Linked DNA regions of Homo sapiens: region 1 is linked to region 2. Evidence: promoter capture Hi-C in 16 types of primary human blood cells and fetal thymus (Javierre and others, 2016). All regions are on one chromosome and are shown on one strand. The core of a region is centred on a gene start or on the middle of the fragment in contact, and the rest is flanking DNA. Distances in the headings are between cores, read along the strand shown. Region 1 overlaps LOC105375270 (a long non-coding RNA gene). Region 2 holds the start of ABCA13 (ATP binding cassette subfamily A member 13).

Region 1 (5,760 bases), core at 732-3,231, 190 kb before region 2:
GAGTGCAATGGTGCAATCTCGACTCACTGCAACCTCTGAGTCCTGGGTTCAAGTGATTCTTTTGCCTCAGTCTACCGAGTAGCTGGGATTACAGGCACCTGCCACTACACCCAGACCATTTTTTGTATTTTTAGTAGAGATGGGGTTTCACTGTGTTGGCCAGGCTGGTCTCAAACTCATGACATCAGGTGAGCTGCCTGCTTCAGCCTCCCAAAGTGCTGGGATTACAGGTGTGAGCCACAATGCTCGGCCTATTATTCCCATTTTAAAGATGGGGACAGATAGAATTGGCAATGTTGGCCATGGCATGCCCTACCTCACACTCTTGATGAGAATCTGCATCACTGGATTGCTGAGTGTCCAGTGACCCACATGCTCCTGCTGACTGGACCAGCTCTATTTACACTTGACCTTCAGGAAAACAATTGATAGTGTGGAAATAAATGAAGACCAACCAAATGGAACAGGCAAAGCCTATTTATTCAGAGTCAGCCATTATCACTTGCATTTCAGCAGAGACTCAAAGGCAGGCAGAGAGGTAGGAACGCTTCATAGTGGAAAAGGAAGGAGAGTATAGTGAAGTAACAGAAGAGGTTACAGAGCATGTTTATTTACCAGCTAAAGCTAAAGTGGCAAAGGAAGGAGAGGTTCATCCCTACCCTTCTGCACCCCCTTATTTCCTCCTGGGAAATATTACTGATGAATAACATTTTATATACGGCATTTTGCACATGGTAAGTTTTTTAGTCAAAGGATATATTCATCTCGATTTTTATAGATAGGCCAAGTTCCCTCCATAAATGTTATACCTATTTGCATTTCTTCCAGCAACGTGTGAGAGATCCTGTTTCCCCAAAGCCTTGGAATAAAACATTATCAAACTTTTGGATCTTTCTAATTTCATCAGTGAAACATGGTACAGTATAATTTTTGCCATTTTTCTTAAGTAAATAAGCTTGAATATCTTTCATGTGCGTCTCTAGATGATCTGTTTACTGGCCATTTTTCTATTGGGTTATTGATATTATAATTGCTTTCTTGGGACTGTGTATATATTGGAAAGATTGGTCCTTATAATGTCAGTTGTGAATATTTTTTGCATTTTAAGTTTTGTTGGCCATGCAGAGGTTCTTGATTTTTATATAGTGGAATTTTTTTTCTTTTGTGGCTTCTAAATTTTGAGTCATATTTAGGAAGACCTTCCTCTATTCAATACCATACAGGAATTATCCCAAGTTTCCTTGTTAATATTTTTATGGTTTTATTACCTACTTGTATATATTTTACCATACTGGGAGTTTGTCATATTGTAAAGTGAGAAATATGGATGGAATTTTATTTTCTTAATGACTGGATAATTGTCCCAAGCCATTTGTTTTTTTCCCCCATACTCTTTTGAGATGCTACCATTATCATACACCCAACTTCCACATACATGTAAATATATTTTTGGACTTGTCTGTTGTTGGGAACAGGCCCCCCAAAATCTGGCCATAAAGTGGCCCCAAAACTGGCCATAAACAAAACCTCTGCAGCACTGTGACATGTTCATGATGGCCATAACGCCCACGCTGGAAGGTGGTGGGCTTACCGGAATGAGGGCAAGGAACACCTGGCCCACCCAGGGCGGAAAACTGCTTAAAGGCATTCTTAAGCCACAAACAATAGCATGAGCTATCTGTGCCTTAAGGACATGCTCCTGCTGCCATTAACTAGCCCAACCTATTCCTTTAATTCAGCCCATCCCTTTGTTCCCCATAAGGAATACTTTTAGTTAACTTAAGATCTATAGAAACAATGCTAATGACTGGCTTGCTGTTAATAAATATGTGGATAAATCTCTGTTCGGGGCTCTCAGCTCTGAAGGCTGTGAGACCCGTGATTTCCCACTTCACACCTCTATATTTCTGTGTGTGTGTCTTTAATTCCTCTAGCGCCGCTGGGTTAGGGTCTCCCCGACCAAGCTGGTCTCGGCAGTCTGTTCCATTGGTCTATCTGTTTGCCAGTATCATACAGTTTTAACTATTGTTTTATACCTATGTCATAGAGCTATTTCTTTTTGTTGATTTTTTTTCAGAGATTTTTCTGGCTGTCCTTTTGCTAAGTTTATATTTCCATATGAACTTTAGAATCAATTTTATTTAAAACATACCCCCCTTTGGGTTTTTAAAAATATATACATGTCTTAATTTTTAAAAAACTTTTTAATTGAAAATATCGAACATATATAAATCTAGACAGAATAATATAATGAAGCTCCATGGACTGGCAGCATTCAACTTCAATGATCATTTCATGGCCAATCTTTTTCATGAATTTTCTTATCCATTTCTTCCTCTTATGTTATTATGGAAAAGATCCCACATATATCATTTCAACTTTAAATATTTAAATATGTAAATAAAAAGATTTATTTTAAAATCATCATTTTAGTACCATTATCATACAGACACCTATAATTTATTTTTTTCAGACAGGGTCTTGCTCTGCCGCCCAGGCAGGAGCACAGTGATCATGGCTCACTGCAGCCTCAAATTCTTGGGCTCAAGTGATCCTCCCACCTCAGCCTTCCAAGTAGCTGGAACTGCAGGTGTGCACTGCCATGCCCAGCTAATTTTTTTATTTTTAATAGAGACAGGGTCTCACTATGTCACCCAGGCTCATCTTGAACTCCTGGAGTCAAGCAGTCCTTCTACCTTGGCCTCCCAAAGTGCTGAGATTATAGGTGTGAGCCACCGTGCCCAGCCCAAATTATTTTTTTTAACGATAATTCTTTAATATCTCATAACTGTCCCATAAAGTCCATATTTTTCTGCTTTTTAACTGAGATCAAGTTACATTTATAAATTAACTTAGAACTGACATCTTGACAGTTGAGTTTTCCCATTGAAGGATACAGTATATGGTACATCTATTTTTCCATTTATTTTACTGAAGTCTTCTTTTTTTTTTTTTCTCCAGACAGGGTCGCCCAGGCTGGAGCGTAGTGGCTCGAACACAGCTCACTTGAAGCTTCAACCTCCCGGGCTCAAGTGATCCTCCCACCTGTCTCCTGAGTAGCTGCAACTACAGGCATGTGCCAAGACGTCTGGCTAATTTTTAAATTTTTTGTAGGGATGGGGTCTTGCTGTGTTGCCCAGACTGGTCTCAAACTCCTGGGCTCAAGTGATCCCCCAACCCTTGGCCTCCCAAAGTGCTAAGATTACAGTTGTGAGCCACTGTGCCTGGCCTTAAGTCTTCTTTTAGTCATTCACTGCTGTTTGGGATTTTTTTCACATAGATATTTTACTTTCTTCTTTTATTTGATGTTTATTATCTAAAGATAATAATGGATTTTGTAAGTTATACCCTGTTGTTTTTATGAATGATATTGATTTATATATGGGAATTTTGCATCCACGAACTTACAACAGTTTTTCCTTGTTTCTAATTCTTTTAAAATAGACTCTATTGCATTTCAAGGAATTCATCAAATTATCTGCAAATGGTCATGGTCAGAACTCCTCACTAATTTTTACCTCCAATTTAAAAATTACTGGTTTCCTATCTAATTGCGCTGACCAGTGCCTCCAGATCAGCACTAAATGATAGTAGTGATAGTGGACATCCATGCCTGGTGTAAATAAATGAGTCCGTGAAGGCAAAGATGCTATTATGGGAAAGACTGATGATGAGACTATCTTCTTCTAAATACAAAATGAGTTTTCAATGCTCTAACAACATGAAGCATCCTTAAAGACTAAACTATGGCAAGGATATTTAATTTACTTCCATATTTTTTTATTAGTAAAATGCATTTACTTTTTACAGGCAAGTATGAACCACTTTGAGGTTTTCTTCCCACTCCCAATTCTCAATTCCTATGGGTGCGGTATCATCTAAGAGAATAAGCATTCTTGAATATTCTGGACATGTGGCATGGCCTTCTGTACCAACTCTTCTAGATGTGCTTGCCTGGTGTGCCATGGACCCTGAATCGATATAAACAAGTATACTTCGGGTGTCCCCAGTTGCTAAAGATATTAAGTTTCACACATAATAAATATTCAGAAACTGCATGCTGAAAATAAAGAAAAGAAAATCAATGCCTTATAACGAAATTCATCTCAAAGAATCCCAATGAATACTGATATAATTTTAAATTATATACTTTTTTTTTTTCGAGATAGGATCTGGCTCTGTCACACAGGCTGGAATGCAGTGGCATGATCATGGCTCATTGCCACCTCTACCTCCTGGGCTCAAGTCATCCTCCCAGCTCAGACCCCCGAGTAGCTGGAACTACAGGCACACGCCACCGCACCTAGCTAATTTATTAATTTTTTGTAGAGACAGGGTTTTGCCATGTTGCCCAGGCTGGTCTTGAACTCCAGGGCTCAAATGATTTACCTGCCTAGGCCTCCAAAAGTGATGGGATTACAGGTGTAAGCCACCACGCCTGGCCTATATACTTTTTCTTTTCTAACATAACTATTTTCAAATATCAGTCTAATGAATGAGAAAATAAGCTACTGGAATAAAGAGCTTATGAAAAGATAAGTAGAGGGAGAGGAGGATAATATGGCGGCCAAGTGACCTCTCTATTCCGCTGTTTCCCCCCTCTACACTCCTTGCTGGCTGTGCCGAGGAGCAGGGGCAAGAGGGCTTGTTGTCTAAAAACCAGAACTATGAAGCCAACTATAAGAACAGATAATATGAGCCCAAATGCATATGAATACATAATCAAATATGAAGCTCTACAAATATGCTCATTTCTAACATATATGTATTGTTTTACCTTTATTTTCTCACTATTTGGCCAAAAAGTGTCATAAAACACTTGTTTTTACATGATATAAAATGTCTTCTACATCTCTTCAGTTACTCCCTGTGGCTAATTTAAAAAATGAGGATATATTTCATTTGCCTTGGTGAGTTTCAGGGGATTTATAAGCTAACAGTTGATATTTTCTCCCACTGGGTTAGGAGTTTTACTTGTATTATCTGATATTAAATCTTTATCCTCTATTCCTTTGAGCTTCTCTCTGCCTCTGTCCACTTCATATTGTACCATCATCTTCCTCCCCTATACTCAAGCAAGGTGAGGTAGTAACTATTACACTTAATAGTATTCAGGGAATGGAATAGTTAAGAAAGAACCAAGAAATTAAATATATATATTATAAAAAAGTGATAGCAGATGAGGAAGAATTTGACTTAGAAACTGCTTTTGCATTTGTCTGTCTTTTGCATTAAAATCCTCGTAAGCACTTCGAGCTCAGAATTGAAGATCAGATAAGCCTTGTGTAACTCACGCTTTTGTCATAATTATTCTCATACGTCACTTTACATGAAGCAATCCCAACAAATTTCTCCCAGTGATAGAGCTACTCATATCATTTCCCAGAGCATACATTACCTGGAGTTCAAATGTTTGAACGGTGGTTCCTGTTTTGTTATATATAAACTGACCTAGGAAAATTTCTTCTCCTTCACATTTTTTTGTGATGCCCTATAAAGAAAGCAACAGATATAGAGATTGTAATGAATGGATGCAGTTGTGTTTTCAAAAAGAACCAACAATTCACCAAATATCTCTGTGTGTCCACCAGGGGCACAGTGCTGTGATCATGCCAGTACTAACCTATACACCCAGAGGATATTTAACAAGGGGTCAATGAGGCCCAAGGCTGATCACGGGACTGACTAAAAGGATAGAAGATGGATGGACACACAGACAGATAGATAGATAGATAGAGAGCTAGATAGATAGATCCATAG
Region 2 (6,501 bases), core at 1,400-3,899:
GACTGGTTGCTTCTAGTGTTGGTGGACAAAGTGGAAAAAGAAAAGGATGACCTCAGGGGTCAAATTCCCAGCTGAAGTGCTGCATAAATGACCTGAAAGTTTCTAAGTGTGTCCCCGAAAGAGACCCTTATTTCCTGTAGTTGCAGGGCTGAGATTGCAGAAAATCAAACCAGAATCTCATCTTGCAACTGACTGAATTACAATGCAATTTGACTGCTAGTCTTGTAGGGTGTCTACTATTAAAGTAAAGGCATTGATTTGGAGGGAATGCGGTGCTGAAAGTTGGAATGGAGATATGTGGGAAGACCCTGATGAAGCTGGAGACACTGAGCCCCTAAATAACGTCTTCTTTGTTATGTGGAAGAGATCTCCACACTCAAGTGGAGGCATTTTCCCCAGTCCTAGTGGAAGTAGTCTCTTACCCCATGTCTGAGGGGATCAACCCTGCCTTGCCTAAGAAAACTATAATGTCCTACCATGAGGCAGTTGCCATGCAAGGCGCTTCTGCTTCTCCTCAGAACCCACTCCCACCATTCCTCGTTCATTTCAGACCTATAACTAGATTCAAGTCCCAGCAGCACCCAAAGGGGAGATATAAGGTATAAACCATGAGGAAGTGTGCTATACATCAAATGGACAATTTGAGTTTTCTAATGTATACAAGCAGAAATCTGGGGAATATGTGTGGAAATGGATATAAGGGTATGGGATAATGATGGAAGGAACATAAAATTGTATCAGGCCAAATTTGCTAATATGGGGTCACTAAGCAGTTATTCTGCATTTAATATGGCAGCTCATGGAGTTAGGAAGGGCTCTAATTGCTTGTTTGTTTTCTTGGCTGAAACACGGAACAAAAGATAGCATTATTCTGGGAGTTTCTGCAAGGGTGTTTATAAATGACATTAATATTTAAGTAGGTAGACTGAATTCAGCAGATGGCCCTCCCTAGTGTGAGTGGGTCTCATCCAATTAGTTGAAGACCTAAACAGAACAAAAAGTCTGACTTTCCCCTAAGTTAGATAATTATTTCTGTCTGATGGCCTTCATACTGGGACATTGGCTTTTTTTTGTTTTCTGCCTTCAGACTTTATGGAAATACCAGCTTGTCCTGGGTCTCAAGTTTCCCAGTCTTTGGATGGCAACTACACCATTGGCTCTCCTGTTCTCAGGTCTTTGGACTCGGACTGGAACTATATCATTGGCTTCCTTGGGTCTCTGACTTGCTAATTCACCTTGCAGATCTTAGGACTTGCCCACCTCCATGACTGTGTGAGCCTATTCCTTATAATCAATCAATCAATCGATCAATGAATCACCCATTGGTTCTGTTTATCTGAAAATCCTAACACAGCATTGTTCCATGAAAGCAATGGATGAGATAATTTTTGTGTCTCTGACATAATTCTGGCATAGCAGCATAAAAACTGGCTGCTATGAACATAACATGAGAAAAACCTTATGGTTGGAGGCTTTTTCTTATACTAGATTTTTAAAAATTATGACAATTACTTGTAAGGTGTTCTAGATGTTATCTGCAAAGAGAACCAGAGTAGCAATACTTAGGCAACCCCAAAGACCTTTGAGAAGTCACAGGTCAAGGGGGAACATCATATGGGGATCAGGCAAATCCACTTATGGTTGCTGGGCGCCATCCTGCTAAGTAATGGCCTTCACTCTAGTGCTGCCAGCCATGTAACAAAAAATAAAATAAAATAGGCATGCTCTAAACAAATAAGTTTACAAAATAATTGAGTCAGTTTCTTTGCTGAAGCCTGTGTTCCCTGTTTCCTATTGCAAAAGCCATTTATCAAGCATTCACAGCTTGTGAAAATTGCTTTATGAAATAGAAGACCACAAGACTGGGTTGCCTGAAATCCTTCTGACCACAACTGGGGGCAACAGGAACTCAAGAGGGCCTGGCTTCCAAGACGATGGAGCCACCAGCTGGCAAGCTGAATCCATCATGCCACTTAGAAAGTGCAAGTGTTCAGGAATCAAACAGGACTCAGAGGTAATCCACAGGCCACTTGCTGAGTCCTGCCACATCTGCACCCGATACCATTTGAAACGTAGATCCTGATCCCTTTGGAGGAAATGGGTGAAGGAGAAGTATGAAGTGCAGGTGCAGTAGCAGAGTGGAACTTGAGTCACCCATTCCCCAAACTCCCCCAGACACCAACACTGCTTCCATCTCCTTCCCTTCAAACTCTCTGCCATGGGACCACCAAAATTGAAATATTTTGGCAAATTTGTGTAATAACCAATGCTTCAGAAGAAAAAAGGAAAATTCCATCTAATTAATATCCAGAAAAAAAGGGAGGTAAATGGTAAATGTGGGCATTACTTCTTGTCGCACAGATCAGTTCTGTGGGTTCTCGGAAAGGGAGGGCACCCTCTCTGTGTATGTGTGTATGCCCGAGAAAGTCCCTGAAGGCAGCTTTCTGTAATTCAACCCTCCTGAAACACTGAACAGCTAGTGAAAAGATTTCTCAGCAGATGCCGAACAAGAGGGGACATCTGATGCCTGTTTTATTCAGTCACCAGTAATCTCTCTTGCATCACTCACTTTTGTTAGAATTGACTAATAGGCAACATGCCTTCACTTGAGCCCAGCAGATATAAGCACCATCCTTACAGGCTGGCTTCCTGACTGAGAGCAGGGAGCAGCAGGCATGGGGCATGCCGGGTGCCAGTTCAAAGCCCTGCTGTGGAAGAATTGGCTCTGCAGACTCAGGAACCCGGTGAGTGCTTGCCTTGGTTTTCCATAGGGTTCCAGTGAGGTCTGGAGCAAGATCAGGGTCTATTCTTTCCTGCCTGCCTCTGCCTCCTGGCAGGTAAAAACACTCATGCTGCAGGGAATTTGGGGAGGTTGGATTATTTTAAATCAAAACCCGTCCCAAGGGCCAAAGTAGCTGAACACTTTAATGACCAGGATGAAATCAAGGCTGAAGAATTTATCAGAAAAGGGCAAATTTAGAAAAATTCTAAAAACAAACAAACAAAAAAGCAGGTGGAATTGAACTATAATTTGTGTTCTAAGCATTCGTTGTAAAAACTGAACAGTGAATTCTCAGGTTTAAGGAACAAAGCATTTGCTGCATTTAATGCATAAGCAGAATGCTACAGGTACTGACTCCGAAGCACAAGACTGCACAGTGTGCCTCACCAGAGCAGGGTATGACACATCCACTCTGTTATTCTGTAGGGTCACCATCTTTAGTGTTAATTCACATCTATTTAGAACTGTATTCAAATTACATTAGCAAGGTTTTCCTAAGGAGATTGGAATTGTTCAAATGAAACTTGTGTGAATACTTATGCAAATATCCTGTAAGTGTACGTTTTTGTGAAATAGAAATCAATTGCTTGTTATTATGACTAACTTTATTCCTGATGCCACTATATAAACATTAATACCTATAAATGTCATTTTCAGGAGAAGTAGATGTGCAGTAATTTACCTGCATCGTTTCTGATTTTAAGGTCTACAGTTAACCTATGGGAATTTTCTGCTGACAAATGCTTTGGTTTGAAGAGATTCAGTAATTGACATTGAATTACATTTTGCTGAATCCTCCGAGCCAGAATATTCTATCTCTCTGTCTTGAAATAAAATACAAGTTAAAGGAGATGTTTTCTTTTTTATGTGATCTTTAGGATCAAAATAATTTCAGTTGAAAGTTTGTACAAAAGTTTTAAGTTGGCCGGGCGCGGTGGCTCACGCCTGTAATCCCAGCACTTTGGGAGGCCGAGGCGGGCGGATCACGAGGTCAGGAGATCGAGACCATCCTGGCTAACACAGTGAAACCCCGTCTCTACTAAAAAAACACAAAAAAATTAGCCGGGTGTGGTGGCGGACGTCTGTAGTCCCAGCTACGCGGGAGGCTGAGGCAGGAGAATGGCGTGAACCCGGGAGGCGGAGCTTGCAGTGAGCCGAGATCGCGCCACTGCACTCCAGCCTGGGCGACAGAGCGAGACTCCGTCTCAAAAAAAAAAAAAAAAAAAAAAAAAAAAAAAAAAAAAAGTTTTAAGTTCAGGAATAAAGGAGTGAGACAGTCTTCATTGATTGTTAGTGTGTTCGTGTCTGTGTAGGTAGTTTTACATTTATAAACAGTGTATTTCATTGACATGTAAGTTTGTTTTAGGGAATTAGCCTATTTTCCCATGAAAGAGTGTTATGGGTGGAAGTTGGTTCCCAGGCACTGCTCTTTCTGCTTTATGCATATCTACCTCAAAACAGTTCAGTGACCGAGGTAGCCAGACTGCCTACTCCTCCTTAATGGATACTTGAGTTTTAAAAAATTTTCACAATTACTTTTGCTGCTAAGGCAAACATCCTCATCAGAAGGTTTTATTTGTTTGATAACTGTTTATTTAAAGTGGTAACTCCTGCATCCCACTTTTCTTTGACTTATTTTTCTTTAGTATTTATCATCTTGTAACACACCACAGATTTTCTTATTTGCCGATTGCCTCTGGATCCTACATTAGTATGTTACATGCATGAGAGCAGGACATTTTCCCCAATTGGTTCATCAATGTATTCTCCAGCACCCAGAACAGTGCCTGGCACACAATGGATGTTCAGTAAATATTTGTTGAATAAGTAAAAGAAGGAAGGAATAAAGCATTTATGCATCTCTGTTATGTGCCAGATAGTGGGTGAACAAGAAAAGTGAGTTCCTGGCCCACAAAGAGCTATAGTCTGTTCACAGAAAAGCAATGAAAAATGCAATTAAATATTTAATGAAACCACCTCTTGGGATATATCCTATAGATGTCCCTGCACAAATGGGAAGTGATATTTGTACAAGGTTGTTCATTATAGCAATGCCTAGAATAGCAACAGAGTAGAAACAACACAAGTGGTTCCATGCATAGAATTTGGAGCTGCCTGACTGGGTTCACATCCCAGCTCTGTCACTTACTAGTTTACTTTTTCAGGCAATTTCTTAACTTAGTTTTCTTCTCTGTAAAATGAAATTGTTTGTAAGTATTAAATGAGTTTGTACATGTAATGTGCTTGCAACAGTACCTGGTATAGGAGTGGGAGCTGTTTTCTTATTTGGTAGAAATGGGTGGCCTCAGACATCTGTGGACATGAACCGTGGGCTGTGAGGAGAGGAGGCACAGGGTAACTCTCAGTTCATGGCTTGCACAGTTGGGTTAGAACAGAACTCCAGGGGGATAAAATGTGAATATGTTTACATATCTTAATGTTATTACAGTGGAAATATTGAGGGCAGGCCCCTCTGGGTGAATGTCTTTAAACTGACCTATTTTTCACAGCATTCTCCCATTCTCCAATGATAATCTGTAGATTCTTTGTTTTTGAACTATGAAAGTGAGGTGTTGGCATGAACTGTGGAATAACCAAACTGCCTGAGTGAATAAATGGCCTCAAATACATGTTTATTTAGTGAGTAAAGCCAGGAACTATTTGTTGTAGGAAGGAAGCTTGTCTGTTTTTACATTTACTGTTTTTTTTAGCTTTTTTTTTAAATTGATGCATAATAGATGTACATAGTGTCAGCATACATGTGATAATTTAGTAATTTGTATCATTCATAAAGAGCAAATCAGTATATGCTTTTACATTTACTTTTAAAAAATCTTTCATATATTTCATGATTATAGTTTCTTCAAAAAACATCTTATTATAGATTCAAACAAAAATTTAAAAAAATAGAATAATGGATAAATAGTACCCATCATACTTATCTTAATACCTAACTCTATAGATTGTTAAAATTCTACTATTCTTGGAAAAAGTAGTTTCTTACCATTATTTTAATACCATTTATTTTTTCCTCTTGATTTTTATTTATTGTAAAAACAGTACTAAAACAAAAGATAAACATTTTAAAGTCATCTAAAATTTTATTATCCTAATTAACTTTTGTGGTCTTTTCTTATCCTTAGGCATACATAATGAAATATTTTTACGTAATTAAAGTCATAGCTTTTTTCCCACTTTATATTGAAGCCTAACATTTTAAAAGTTACTGTATGGTCTTCTTATTTAATGGTTTTATTGAATAACAGTTCATCAGTTGTATACACATAATTATTTGACCATTTCCTTATGTTGAGGATTAAGGTTCTTTCCAGCTCTTATTGTTATGAATAACATCATTATGCATGAAGGACACACCTTCTCCTGGATCATTTCTCTTGAATAAGTTTCCTGGAGAAGTTTCTGGGTCAAGGTAAGGAAACATTGCTTTTGGGCAGGTGGAGATCAGTTGACAATGTCTCACGGGTGACCCCATGGATAGTTCCAGTGCAATGCCATCAACATTGGCAAATATTCAGTGGCTTTGAGCCATGCTTTTCCACATGAATTTCTATTAATTTCTACATTTTATTCTAACTGTAAATCAGTCTAATTAATTACTTATTTTATTTTTATTTCTTTTAATTTTAATTTTTTTAAATTGACAGATAATAATTGCACATATTCATAGGGTACATAGTGATGTTTCAATACAAATAATG

What was found. The method cuts DNA at HindIII sites, captures the fragments that hold promoters and counts their contacts. A CHiCAGO score of 5 or more calls a contact.
Region 1: a contact is called between a fragment that was not itself captured here and the fragment with the promoter of ABCA13 in region 2, in 1 of 17 cell types (neutrophils). The highest score is 5.1, in neutrophils.

The regions. Positions count from the first base shown.
Region 1 is chr7:47,983,390-47,989,149 of GRCh38, forward strand. It overlaps LOC105375270 (a long non-coding RNA gene), which reads left to right. Exons shown (of 3, transcript XR_927251.3): 2 at 829-916; 3 at 2,962-4,056. It overlaps SUN3 (Sad1 and UNC84 domain containing 3), which reads right to left. Exons shown (of 10, transcript NM_001030019.2): 9 at 5,399-5,491; 10 at 3,759-4,060. The coding sequence ends at 3,941. Among named protein-coding and RNA genes, the nearest start is that of HUS1, 6.7 kb to the left of the region's middle. RefSeq lists an enhancer at 5,688-5,760. The HindIII fragment of the contact is 2,057 bases long and covers 954-3,010 here.
Region 2 is chr7:48,168,809-48,175,309 of GRCh38, forward strand. ABCA13 (ATP binding cassette subfamily A member 13) reads left to right here and starts at 2,650. Exons shown (of 62, transcript NM_152701.5): 1 at 2,650-2,744. The coding sequence starts at 2,676. The HindIII fragment of the contact is 8,502 bases long and covers 1-5,458 here.